Regions from separate parts of the Homo sapiens genome. Here regions 2, 3 and 4 are each linked to region 1. The links are contacts of gene promoters, found by promoter capture Hi-C in blood cells and fetal thymus (Javierre and others, 2016). All regions are on one chromosome and are shown on one strand. Each heading gives the region's core, a stretch centred on a gene start or on the middle of the fragment in contact. The rest is flanking DNA. Distances are from core to core; before and after follow the strand shown.

The links. The method cuts DNA at HindIII sites, captures the fragments that hold promoters and counts their contacts. A CHiCAGO score of 5 or more calls a contact.
Region 2: a contact is called between the fragment with the promoter of CCDC69 here and the fragment with the promoter of RPS14 in region 1, in 10 of 17 cell types (fetal thymus, total CD4 T cells, neutrophils and 7 more). The highest score is 11.3, in fetal thymus.
Region 3: a contact is called between a fragment that was not itself captured here and the fragment with the promoter of RPS14 in region 1, in 3 of 17 cell types (activated CD4 T cells, naive CD8 T cells and fetal thymus). The highest score is 6.2, in activated CD4 T cells.
Region 4: a fragment that was not itself captured here is called in contact with the fragment with the promoter of RPS14 in region 1 in 1 of 17 cell types (naive CD8 T cells); the score reaches 5.2 in naive CD8 T cells.

What each region holds. Positions count from the first base shown.
Region 1 is chr5:150,448,164-150,451,418 of GRCh38, forward strand. RPS14 (ribosomal protein S14) reads right to left here and starts at 1,576. Exons shown (of 5, transcript NM_005617.4): 1 at 1,540-1,576. RefSeq lists enhancers at 1,093-2,031, 1,645-1,964. The HindIII fragment of the contact is 9,558 bases long and covers 1-3,255 here.
Region 2 is chr5:151,222,391-151,225,645 of GRCh38, forward strand. It overlaps CCDC69 (coiled-coil domain containing 69), which reads right to left and starts at 1,702. Exons shown (of 9, transcript NM_015621.3): 1 at 1,533-1,702. The coding sequence starts at 1,580. It overlaps LOC105378230 (a long non-coding RNA gene), which reads left to right. Exons shown (of 4, transcript NR_160730.1): 4 at 1,086-1,960. RefSeq lists enhancers at 1,125-1,234, 1,255-1,454 and silencers at 1,575-1,654, 3,138-3,255. The HindIII fragment of the contact is 18,522 bases long and covers 1-3,255 here.
Region 3 is chr5:151,081,855-151,085,109 of GRCh38, forward strand. It overlaps a transcript of TNIP1 not described here. Among named protein-coding and RNA genes, the nearest start is that of TNIP1, 2.4 kb to the left of the region's middle. RefSeq lists enhancers at 1,587-1,696, 1,817-1,926. The HindIII fragment of the contact is 1,257 bases long and covers 870-2,126 here.
Region 4 is chr5:151,055,611-151,058,865 of GRCh38, forward strand. It overlaps TNIP1 (TNFAIP3 interacting protein 1), which reads right to left. Exons shown (of 18, transcript NM_006058.5): 6 at 1,156-1,347. Among named protein-coding and RNA genes, the nearest start is that of TNIP1, 24 kb to the right of the region's middle. RefSeq lists an enhancer at 695-1,221. The HindIII fragment of the contact is 3,905 bases long and covers 1-3,255 here.

The sequences.
Region 1 (3,255 bases), core at 326-2,825:
CAAGGGACCCTTACCAACACAGCCCTCAAGCCTCTCATCTCCTGTTTTCCTGTGCTCCACCTGATCCCTTCAAAATGTTCAAAAATGCAACTGATTTGACTCCCACAACTATTTAGAACTAAATCTTTGTCACCAACATCAAATATCAAAGGCACTAAAATATATCCAAAAGGCAGGCTAATGGAAAAGACCCATCTCAGAAATCTGATGGGTCCTGAGACTAAATAACTCTAACCTATTATGACCTTCATAATAATTGCAATCATACTGTCACAAGATCTAAGGGAGAGAGAAACTGACAGGAGGAAGGCGGGTGAGAATGAATGAGAAAGTGGAAGGCTAGGATAAGACTGCTTCCGGCCTAAAGCCCCAGGCCTTCTGAACCTCCTGGTGTTCAGAACAATTTAACATTTTCAGAAGACACTAACACTAATCGATATCCTGCAGATGGTGAAGATAGAGAGTGTCTCAGCCTATGGTCACAGTAAAGACAGTGGCAAAACCAAACATAGAAACAACGTGTCCTGACTCCCAGCCCAGCACTCTCTGCCTCCTGCCAAGATGCCTCTACACCACAAATAACTACCCTAGTCTGTCTCAGGTGTTCCTAGATCTCTCCTCTGCCTTCCCTATATAAACTTTAGTTAAGTGTGTGACCACAGTAAGTACTTCAAGTGTAAGTCTTGGGTGTACGAAGTTAAATGTTCCTATCTTCAAATCAGACCAATGAGCACGACCCAGTGCGTTAACTATTGTAAGGAACGCGCCACAGGAGAGAAGCCCAAAGTTCTGCCTCGAGAAGCATAGAAAGGCTCCAGCATATCTCAAATACGTAAGCATGAGTATGTTTCGGCATGATGGCCATTCAGTAAATGCCAATTTGCAGTTTCTCCGTTCCTAACATCCCCTAAAGTAACGAGCAGAGTGGTCATCAGGAGTATATAAACGCAGGGCAAGCGCACAGCAAACATTGGTGCTGGGCCCTGAGCGCCCAGAACTTGCAACGTGCCCGACTCAGCAACGGAAAGAATCGCCCAGATTTAGAAGCATCCAACATAGTGCGAGAGTTTTCCCTGCTTTCCTTCTTTGAATGATCACTACAAACCCATGGGATCGGTGCTATTGTTATTCCTATTTTGCAAACGAGGAAACAAACGAGATTAGGCGTGGGCCTGCGATCACCAAGAAAAAAGTTTGGCGAGGTAGAGGCGGGAGCCCACGTCTGTCCCGGGTTCCCTCAACTACGCTGTGCAGCTCAAACGCGGCCGTGGCCGTGGCCGTATTGCGGGGCCGAGGCCTTAAAAGGCTGGACCCGCACTCACCCTTACTTCACAAGCTCCTCCCTGAAAGCAAAACGGGCCTTCTGAGACCAGGAACGAACTCAATCCCGAGTTGGCCAGGATCCAGGTGGGCCAGCCGCGCGTCTCTTGCCCGGCACCTAGCTCGGTTCCCACGGAAAGACCCCCGTCTCTCGTCCCAAGCCCCACAGGGTCCCCTCGCCGCAGGATGCCCCCCGATTGTCGCGCCCGGGCCTCCTACCTGCACGTCGTCTCCAGACTCCACACCGGAAAGAGAGAGTGGGAGGGGGCGGAGCGACGGGGGTCACTTCCGTGTCCCGGAAGTATACCTCTGAGGTCACGGGGCGAGGTCGGGTTCCGGAAGACGCCGGCATTATTCCTCCCAAAGAGTTTAAGACTCGTCATAAGGAAAGACGGTTTATTACTTAAGGGAGAGCGAAAAGAGGTAGAGGGCTGGTTGTCGCTGCGAGCGGGTCGGCCTAAGCGACAGTACGAAGCGGCTACACCCGCGGGGTGAGGTGGGCCTGTATTCCATGATGGCGGTGGTCGTGGCTAGACAGACTTCCGCCATCCTGACTCCCGCCCTGGCAGCCTTGGAGCGGCAGCGCCCCTTGTGTGGAGCAGGGGAATAACAACAACAAAACGGCCTTAATTAAAGCTAGGGTGGCGCCGGCCTGTGGTCCCAGTTACTCAGGAGGCTGAGGATCGCTTCGTCCAAGTAGTTCGAGGCCAGCCTAGGCAACATAGTCGGGGAAAACACACCGTAATCACTTACTTTGGCATATTATATAATGGGCAAAATAAGAATAAATTATTCAATATGTATTTTCAGACCGGTCTGGGCTAAACAGTTTATATGCATTGCTTCATTTACTCCTCAAGACATTATCAAATAATTTTGATTTCCCTCTTACAGATAAAGGATGTTAACTGAGAGCACACCTTTGCAGAAGGGTTTGGAATTCTAGCTTCAAAGCCCTCGTGTTTAATAGCTACTTCCACATAGCCCTCTAATAACAATATACATGTATATATTTCGACCGAATCTTGTTCTGTAGCCAAGGCTGGAGTGCAGTGGCGCAATCTCGGCTGACCGCAACCTCTGCCTCCCAGGTTCAAGCTATTCTGCCTCAGCCTCCCAAGTAGCTGGGACTACAGGCGCGTGCCACCACGCCCGACAAATTTTTTGTGTGTGTGTATTAGTAGAGACGGGGTTTTACCGTGTTGACTAGGGTGGTCTGGATTTTCTGACCTCGTGATCCACCTGCCTCGGCCTCCCAAAGTGCTGGGATTACAGGCGTGAGCCACCGTGCCCAGCCTCTAATAACAATATTGAAGGACCTTGAAGGCTTGGGAGAATATGTCGGAGCTGTGGGGAAGGGCCAAGAAGTGTACCTCACAGAGCTAGGCAAGCGGTAGATACATTTTATCTATGTACTATATGTAATATTTATATGGAATATATATAGTATTTTTGTATTACATACTATATAAATATTATAAATATATTTTAAATATATAAATATATCCCGTGGCTCCAGCCTGGGTGACACAGCGAGACCCTGTCTCAAAAAAAAAAAAAATTTATTCTGCTAAACTGAAAAACTCAACATACCTTCTTTTTTTTTTTGAGACGGAGTCTGGCTCTTGTTGCCCAGGCTGGAGTGCAGTGACGCCATCTTGGCTCACTGCAAGCTCCGCCTCCTGGGTTCAAGTGATTCTCCTGCCTCATCTCCCGAGTAGCTGGGATTACAGGTGTGCGCCACCACACCCGGCTAATTTTTGTATTTTTAGTAGAGACGGGGTTTCACCATGTTGTCCAGGCTGGTCTCGAACTCCTGCCTCAGGTGATCCACCCGCCTCGGTCTCCCAAAGGGCTGGCATTATAGGCGTGAGCCAATGCACCCAGCCTCAACATACCTTCTCGTTGCATTGCATTTCTTCGATGATGAGTGAC
Region 2 (3,255 bases), core at 452-2,951, 770 kb after region 1:
TGTGGAAGGGTCAGGCTCTTCCCCGTTTCCTCCACCTCTAGGTAGATGGAATTCACCCTTGGTCCACTTTGCAAGCTACAAGGTTGACACAGGTGCAGAGAACACAGACTCTCAGATGCTTAGGGATCATCCTGCTCATCACTCCCCATACAGGGAGAAACTGAGACCCAGGGAGACACAAGGGCTTGCTTGGGGTCACCCAGTATGTTTATGGCACCACCAGGACTTACACCCAGGGCTAATGTCTGCCTACCACTTGCTCAGTTACAAGTCTCAGCCAAGGCTCAGGTCTCTCCGCCTTGTCATCCCTGTCAGCCAGCCCCTTCCTTCTACTGATAGAGCCAAGCCTCAGTTTCCCTGTTGGAGTGAGTAAAGACATGAGGGTTTCTAGGTCAGGAGTTGGTGAGAATTTCAATCTGGTAATAAAGGGAGAGCAAGGAAAGCCAGGAGGTGTCAGAGAAGGGAGTAGAATCCTCCAGGCTAGGACTACTGTTAGGCAGAAAAACCTGTACTCAGGGCACAAGCAAAGCAGGAGCAGAGGGAGGACTAAAGTTCATTGCAAAACTATTAAACACTGTCACAGTTTGGGGCCTCTCAAGGTCTCAAGGGGGAATGATGATAAAGTTTAAGGGATCACCTAGTCCCACCTGGCTAGGGGGCAGGTAGTGGTAAGAAAAGGGGCCAGAATTTGAGGGTCCTTCTTCCCCTCTGCCTCACAGTGTCCCCTGAGGAGGCTATCTTTCTAGCTCCAGGCTCTGACCTTCTGGGCTCGTCAGACCCCAAGGGGCAGCTGGTCTCACTGCAAGAAACCTGAGAATTGTCCCCTGGGCCCTGACCCAGCTCCAAGGCCCCTTGGGGGAAGGACAGGAAGGGAGGAGAGGGCCACAGAACGCAGTAGATCTCCTCCCTCTTTGGCCCCTCCCAGCTACCCCAAGGGCAGCCCACACTCACCAGCTCTGGGGCCTGCAAGAGCCCTAAGACCAGCGCCTCAAACTTTAAAGCGTCATCACCTGGGCATATTGTTAAAAGGCAGCTTCTGTCTTGGCAAGACTGGGCCTGAGCCTGAGATTCTGCATTTCTGACAGGTCCCCAGGGATGCTGATACTGCGAGTCTGTGGAACACTCTTCGAGCAGCCCTGAGATTATCAGCCTTTAACCCCCGGGGGGAGGAAGCCGAAGGCCCAGAGAGGTCAAGTCACTTGTCCATGGCCACACAGCGAACAGCCCCAGACCGAAAGCAGAGGGCACCTGCCACAGACACACGACATCTCCCCACCCGAGGCAGCGGGAATCAGCTGCCTTTCCCTGGCCCGGGTGCCGTGTTTGTAAACTCGGCTGCTTGGTGCGGCTCGGGCCGGGGTAAAGGGCGCCTCCCAGCAGAGCCTCCCTCGTCTCTGAGCTGGCCTCTCCAGGTTCTCCGTCCGGTATCCCGGGCCGACCAGAGAGAGCCCGGGGCGCCGAGTCCTCTGCGGCGGAGCGATTCCGCACTCCCCTCTCCTCTGAAAGCAAACTTCTCCGCCGGCGCCCTTTACCTTTTTCGGGGGTTTGCAGCTGCTCAGCCTGCTGTGTCTGCAGCCCATCCTCCTCCGGGGGCTCCCGGACGCCGCTTCCCAACTCCGGGGCCCCCAGAGGAGCCTGCGATCCGGGCCCCGCTGCCCGCTCCGCGCCCGCCGGCTGGGGCTGCCGGCGAGACCCTGAAACTGAACCTGGAAGCGCTGTCTTGAGCCTGAGCTGGGGCGGCCGCCCGCCGTAAATACCCGAAGAGCGGGGCCTCAGTGTAGCCCGCAGGGCCAGCGGCGCCGCCACCAGAGGCAGGTGACCAGAATCCTTCTAAATAATAGGAAGCTCTGGTCAGGGCAGAAGAAAAGAAAACCTCAAGGAGCAACAGATGCTTTTCCGAACCCTCAGCTAAGAAAGGGCCGGGGGAAAAAATAATTAAAGCAATTATTTGATAAACTAACAACTATCATTCATTGAGGGCTGTTTTTGTCCCAGTTGTTTTATACATTTTATTTCTATTTCTTGCCATATCAGTGCAACAAAGGTATTACTTCCTCCATTTTACAGGTGAGGAAAATGGTGTTCAGAGATGCAACATGATTTGCCTAAGGTCACATGGCTAGTAAGTTACCACAGCCCAGATAGAATCCAGTTCCTTTTTTTTTTTTTTTTTTGCCGCTATCATAGTTCACTGCAGCCTCAAACTCCTGGGCTCAAGCGAGCCTCCCAGCTCAGCCTCCTGAGTAGCTGGGACTACAGAGGCTCACCACCATACCCAACCAAATTCTTTTCTTTTTTCCAGTCTGATTTTGAACGACCGCCCTCAAGCGATCCTCCCACCCTGGCCTCCCAAAGCGTTGGGATTACAGGCATGAGCCACTGCACAGAATACAGTTCTAACTCCAGAACCTAAACTTTGACTCAATGGCCTACAAATAAATCATAATACTAAGTTTATTGTATTTATTTATTTTTGAGACAGAGTCTCGCTCTATTGCCCAGGCTAGAGTGCAGTGGCACGATCTTGGCTCACTGCAACCTCTGCCTCCCAGGTTCAAGTGATTCTCCTGCCTCAGCCTCCCCAGTAGCTGGGATTACAGGCATGCACCACGACACCCAACTAATTTTTGTATTTTTAGTAGAGACAGAGTTTCACCATTTTGACCAGGCTGATCTCAAACTCCCAACCTCAGGTAATCCGCCCGCTTCGGCCTCCCAAAGTCCTGGGATCCCACACCTGGCCAATAATACTAAGTTTAATTTTAATGCCTCCTCACTTCTGGGCTGATAGTTTTTTCCACCTCACAAGCATCTGTAATATTTGACTCTATCCATCTTGGATAGATGTTATTCATCACAACAACCTCTTGAGGCAGGCCAGGTATGGTGACTATGGGACATAAAATGTCAGTGTCTAGGAAAAGGAGCTTTTGTTTATCTTCTCTTTGTTATTAGCTGAGGTTTCTGAAATGGCAATGCAGGAAAAAGATAACCAATTTTGAAAATCAGTGTGTATGCCTATTTGCGTGTATATTGGAATATTAAAGTCAGGCCCAAAACTCTTGGAAAGGTGTGCTGTGAAAACGGCTTAGAGTCATGAATGGGGAAAGAATATGAGACCTCAAAAAAATTGCTCCCTCCATAGGGTACAAAACCAATTGCAAAAGTGTGTAAGAAAGGAAACTAAGGAAACGTGTTATTAGGTTCTCAAAAGCAAGTATAATAGAGAATGGTGGCTCACAAAGTGTGATTCCC
Region 3 (3,255 bases), core at 248-2,747, 630 kb after region 1:
AAACTTGCTTTAAGGGTAGGAAAGCTTTTTAAAAGCTTATCCTTTTATTTTTAAAAAGAAAGAAAGCTAAATTTTAATTCCAAAAAGTGGAAGGTCTAACCTTGGAATAAAGAACAGCTCTTTAAACTAAATATAGCTTTATGAAAAACCTATTGCAAAAGACCCATTTCACTGGTACTGTTGAAAACTTAGTCATTGACAGGCCCTCATCCTCAAAAAGAATTAGGGGAAAGGATTTGGGGAACTGTTTAATACACACCCTCATTTTACAGAAGAGAGACCCATCAATCAACTGTGACTTCGCAATAATACACACACAGATACTTGCCCAAATTATATACCTAATCTGGGGATTCTCCTATAAGGCTTTGTAACCTCCTAGGGTTCCTTCAGTTAATTCAACGGTGTTATCAGATCTTCAAAACGATATTCATTCTAGTTTAATTATGAAAAGAATTACACTTATGCCTTGATTCAGAAGGGAGGGAGGGAGGAAGCGATGCAAACTCCAAAGCACCACTGAGTCTCACCACTGGGGGATCCTACAGAGAAACTGGGAATCCTGGCCCTGGTTTACATAGCAGCTCCCAGGCATCGTCTCCACCCATCAGGTCCGCACCTGCCAGTTTTCTTCCTGCTCTTTGTGCCTGTACTTCCCAATTCTCTTCCTGCAGGGCTCTCTTCCTATTCCCAACCCACATCTTCTCCACCCCCACCCTCTACCCACTGAAAACTAAAATCTACCTAAAAATGGCTGGTCTCTAATTACTTGCATTTTGTTTCCACACTATTTCAGCTGTTTTTATAGCATGTCTGGCCTTAGCCGGGCAGACAGTTTCATTTCTCAAAGTGTCCGCTGGGAATTCTCAAGCTTGACATAAAAAAATGGCACTCAGTCATCTTTTTGTCTGATTTCCTAGTTCTGGATCCTTTTTCTTAACAGTTCCAATTTGTGAGAAAACTCATTTATTTATAAAGTCGTGACTGCCCCCACCTCTTCCATTCTTTGAAGTCTTGGTTTGTCTTCAGGACATTCCACCCTGTTAGAGACCATGGAGCCCATAGATAACAAACCCCTATTTGACAGATAGGTAAACTGAGTCCTCTGTCTAGAAAAGGACTTACTCTAGGCCACACACATTGAGTGACACAACCAGGGCCTTGGAATCCAGGGCCTTGGCTCCCAGTCCTGTGTGCTTGGTCCACTGTACCAAGTTGTCTTTACAATGACATGATTTTTCTCACTGCCTTGCAGAAAACACCACTGTCATAAACACAGGCTATGAATTGAGCTAATGGGATTCCAATCCCTGCTCAGCCACTTACTACCTGGGTGGCCCCTCTAAGCCTCAGGCTTCTGTCTGGAAAATGGGGGATAATATACCTATTCCTCATGTGAATCATGAGGATAAATTGGACAATGCAAATAAAGCCCAAGGCTCAGCACACAGTAGGCATTCAAGAAATGATAGTGGTGTCTAGATGTGGGCTGCATGCATTGGGTAGAACTTGGCTCTTAAACTCAGCAATGCAACCTCACCAGGCGCCATCCCACCATACACATCCTCTGTGAGACCCTAGCCTCTAGGAGCATGGCAGGAATGGGAGACAGGCCCCCTAGCCTGGCACTGCCTGCTACCCTGTGGTCTGGAAGGGGATTTCCAAGTCAAGAAGCTGGGCCTGACGCTGGGAGCTGAGTGACTCAGGCAGGTGCAACCTCTTGTTCTTCCAGAGTAATGACAAGCACTCGCACAAAGCCACACCCAGAAGGAGAATCAAACTGCCTTTGTTTTGTTTTGTTTTATTTGGTTTTGTTTTAAAGCACGCAACTTCTCGATCTCCTTTCTGCTACTCCCTCCTCCACCACCCCTACTGAGGTAGCTACAGAGTCAGACCCAAATACACATTTGAAGGTAATAAAAAACATATGAAAAATCCATCTATAACCAACTTAACTCTAGAGCAAGTTCCAGAAGAGGGGTGGAGGCTGCATAATAAAAGCATTAAAAGGTAACATGTATGGAGTATTTGCTGTGTGCTATCTCCGCGCTTTTATTCATAATTTGCCTCCCAACCAGCTTATGAGGTCGGCACCATTATCATCCACATTTCACAGATGAAACTGAAGCTTTGAGGTATTAGATGACTTGCCCAAGGTCTTACAGCACAGCAAGTAACCGGAGCTTGAAGATCCAGGCTCTTAAACGCTTAACACTCTTAAGCATCATGCTCCAAAGTCTTGCCAGCTAGCAAGACATAGAACTCAGAGTGCCAGGCTTGAAGGGTCTTTAGAAATGATCAACCCAGGCAGGGCATGCCGTGGCTCACGCCTGTAATCCCAACACTCTGGGAGGCTGAGGCGGGTGGATCACCTGAGGTCAGGAGTTCAAGACCAGCCTGGCCAACATGGTGAAACCCCGTCTCTACTAAAAATACAAATATTAGCCAGGTGTGGTGGTGGGCGCCTGTAATCCCAGCTACTCAGGAGGCTGAGGCAGGAGAATCACTTGAACCCAGGAGGTGGAGGTTGCAATGAGCCAAGATCGCGCCATTGCACTCCAGCCTGGGGACAAGAGCAAGACTTCGTCTCAAAAAAAAAAAAAAAGAAAGAAAGAAATGATCAACCCAGTCTTTTCATTGTAGGGCTGGAGCCACACCAAGGGCCAGAGAGCGGCAGGGACTTGCGGGAGGTCTTACGTTGAGTTTGTGATTCATACATAGGACAGAACCCAAGTATCCTTCTCCCAGCACAGTGCTGTTTCCACATACCCCACTGATAGGAAATGGAGCATCTAAATCAAACAAGAACATTCCTCATTGCATTAGGAGAATGAGTGAATCAGGGCCTTGGCTAGGGGAGAATGGAACTCGGGAGCAGCTAATGAACTAGGAAAAGAGCAGCCCTGGGTCCCTTCCTTAGATCCATAACCTGAGGCAATCTCAGGAGTGTAAGACCCTCCAGTGGATTCTAGGTACTTTTTGGTGCTGGGTGTATGTGTATGTTAAAGAGAGATTTTGGTGATAGTTAAATGAGAATGCATATCAAGCACATGATATTGACTAAAATTGTTCTAGGCAATTGTGGCAGTTTTTGGTAAAAAGTAAATAAATGAGCAGGGTCCATGGTCCCAGCTTCTCTCCTCAGCCTAAGAAGACATTTTTAATTCTCTCTATCCAGCTCCCAAATACCTGCATGAGGAGGTAGTTGTATCTTCAGAGGTTTTCACAGTCATTCAGCACCTTAAGGTGAATGAA
Region 4 (3,255 bases), core at 294-2,793, 610 kb after region 1:
TCCGTGCTCCTCTACCCCCACACCTCTCCTCATACTGCATCTCCAACCTGATTGCCCTTCATGCCCTCGGCAACCAAGGTCACGCAAGGGGGACTCCCCCTTCTGCCATCAGCGGGGCACTTGAGTGCCTGCTGACATGAATGAGACCACAGATCAGAGAATGGCCTGGGAGGAGAGTCTGCAGGGAGTAAGGAGGCTTCAAGTCATGGCTCTGTCACTAAGGTGGCGGGCACTCAGATCACGAGCAGTCCCTCAGAAGCCTCCGTTTTGCCATCTTTAGAATGGTCACCAATTATAACTGAACACTTCCCCGCTGCTAAAGCCCACAAGGCTAAGACCCCCTGCCCAGTGTGGATGCCCGTCATGAACTCCGAATGGGGACCTCTCTTCCAGCATGGACTAGGTTCTGGACTGCACTGGGTGCTTCATGTACATGGCCTCATTTAATGCAGCAATCTAACCATGGAGGCACTTCTAGCTCATGTTACTGATAGGAACATTGGGGGATAGAGAGGATAAGTGACTTGTCCAAGGTCATACAGCAATAAAGGGTCACTACTGGAACCAAGGACCATATAACTCCAAGGTCTGGCCTGGCCTAGCAAGGAAATCTGTCCATTCCCCACAGCACAGGGAGGCTTTCAAAAGGAATTCAATAGGGGAGGCAGGTTGGGATGGTGGTCAAGAGTATGGGCTTTGGAATGCGAGAGATCGAGGTTCCAATCCCTACTTCACCATTTACCAGCTGGGTGACCTTGGGCAAAAAAAGGGCTGCTTCCCCACCTGTGAAGTGGTGATAATGAGGGTGCCTACCCTGGGGGGAAAGAGGCATTATGAAAGGAGTTGACCTTTGTTCCCTCCCTTCCCATCCCCCAACCCTGCACATGAGAAATAAAGGCAGGGCTGCTGGGGGTATCCCCAACCATGACACTCGCATTGCCCATCCCGTATTTCCCCATTTCCTTCCTCTTCCTCATCCCTCCCCACAACTTCCTTATCCTGTTCATCACCCTGAACAAAAAGCCCGAAGTCTGCCCACAACACAGCCTTCAGAAGTCCCCATGGTACCAGTGGATTCCCAGGAGCAGGAAGGTGGGAAGAGCTCGGGGGGAAGCACGCCTGCCTGTCTCGGGCTGCCCTCCCCACGCGCCTCACCTGCAGAATGGAGGTGCGCTGCTCATTCTTGTGCACCTTGGATGCCAGTCGGTTGAACTCCAGGGCCATGCGGCCCAGGTGGGTGAAGAGCTGGCCGTGGTCCGGCTCCTCGGCACACACACTCAGCGTGGTCTCCAGGCGCTGCAGGTGCAGCATCAGGTTGCCGTCCTCACGGGGCAGGGGGCCCAGCGCCTGGAGAGGGAAAGGGCACACGGCCCACTCTTCACCAAGGCCTGAGTAGGCGCCGCCAGTCCATTCTCCCTCTGCTTCCTCATTTCTCATGACTCAGTTTCCCCCTGTGACCCCAGCTCAGCCCCGGGAAATTCTCCAGTTATGCAGGTTCCCTGTCTGGGGCTGACTCACAGGGCAGAACCCAGGACTCACAGGCCACTGGTGGCTCCACAGCAGCGGGGCCACCATCCTCCCACACACTGGGCCTTGCAGAGTGCCTGACAGTAAGTCACTTGTCTGCTGGACCTCAGCATCCTCATCTACCAAATGTCCGCACAACCCTTCCCTCCCTTCAACCTCACAGGGTTCTTAGGAGGATGAATTGACCCCTGACAGTAACAAGCCCAGAAAAGGGACATCACTGCACAGTCAGCCCTCCATATCCATGGGTTCCGCATCCATGGATTCAACCAACTGCAGATCAAAAATCTTCTAAAAAAACAAACTGGCCGGGCGCGATGGCTCACGCCTGTAATCCCACCACTTTGGGAGGCTGAGCGGGCAGATCACAAGGTCAGGAGATCAAGACGGCCTGAGTGGTGAAACCCTGTCTCTACTAAAAATACAAAAATTAGCTGGGCATGGTGGCACGTGCCTGTAATCCCAGCTACTTGGGAGGCTGAGGCAGGAGAACTATTTGAACCAGGGAGTCGGAGGTTGCAGTGAGCAGAGATCGCACCACAGCACTCCAGCCTGGGCAACAGAGCAAGATTCCGTCCCAAAACAAACAAACAAAAAACTGTATTGAACATGTACAGAATTTTTTTCTTGTCATTATTCCCTAAACAATACAGTATACCAAAATTTAGCATTTACATTGTATTAGGTATCGTAAGTAATCTAGAGATGATTTAAAGTATATAGGAGGATGTGTATAGGTTATAGGGAACTACTACGCCATTTTACATCAGGGACTTGAGCATCCATGGATTTTGGGTATCCTCAGGGAGTTCTGGAACCACTCTCCCATGTTTACCAAGGGACATCTGCATATACGTCCTGCAACCTCCGCCTCCTGGGTTCAAGCGATTCTCCTGCCTCAGGCTCCTGAGGAGCTGGGATTACAGGTGTGCACCACTACACCAAGCTAATTTTTGTATTTTTAGTTGAGACGGGGTTTCACCACAATGGCCAGGCTGGTCTTGAACTCCTGACCTCAGGTGATCCACCCACCTCGGCCTCCCAAAGTACTGAGATTACAGGCGTAAGCCACCATGCCTGGCCTACACATGTGTCTTCTGGGGAATGGCCCAAGCATTCATCAGCTTCTGAGGACCCAAGACTCAAAACAGTTTAAGGAACCACAGCTTTAGCTATTTCAGAAAGTCCCAAACTAGTACAGTATGTAAGAAATAAAGCACACCGTGGGCCAGATAGTTGACTCTTTCTCTCTAGTCTATCTGGAATACTCCTACCAAAGACATTGCCTTTGTTACACCAATTCCACTCCCAAGGACCTGCAGTGTTACCCTACTGCAGACGGCACTGGGCCCAGCTCCCCTGCTGGGCATCTAAGGCCCTACAGCCGCAGGTCCCATCCACAGCAGCATCCAGTTGGGCTCCCCACTTTACCCTGCCTGAACCCACACACACCAGGTCTGGTGTCTCTGCATGTGTCCTCTCTGTGTCCTCTCTGCCTCTGCAAGTTCTGCTCATCCTTCCCACCCTGTCCACGGCTCAGCTCCTCCAGCAGCCTCCCGGAAACAGTTATGGGAATCACAGGACAGCAGAGCTACAGGGAGCCTCAGAGATCAGGCCGGGAAACCAAGCTATGGGGAGGAGGAACTTGCCCAAAGTTGCCCTGTAAGTCAGTGGCAGAGGTATAACGAGAACTGAGGTTTCCTGACTCGCCATCCAGTGCTCTGCTGC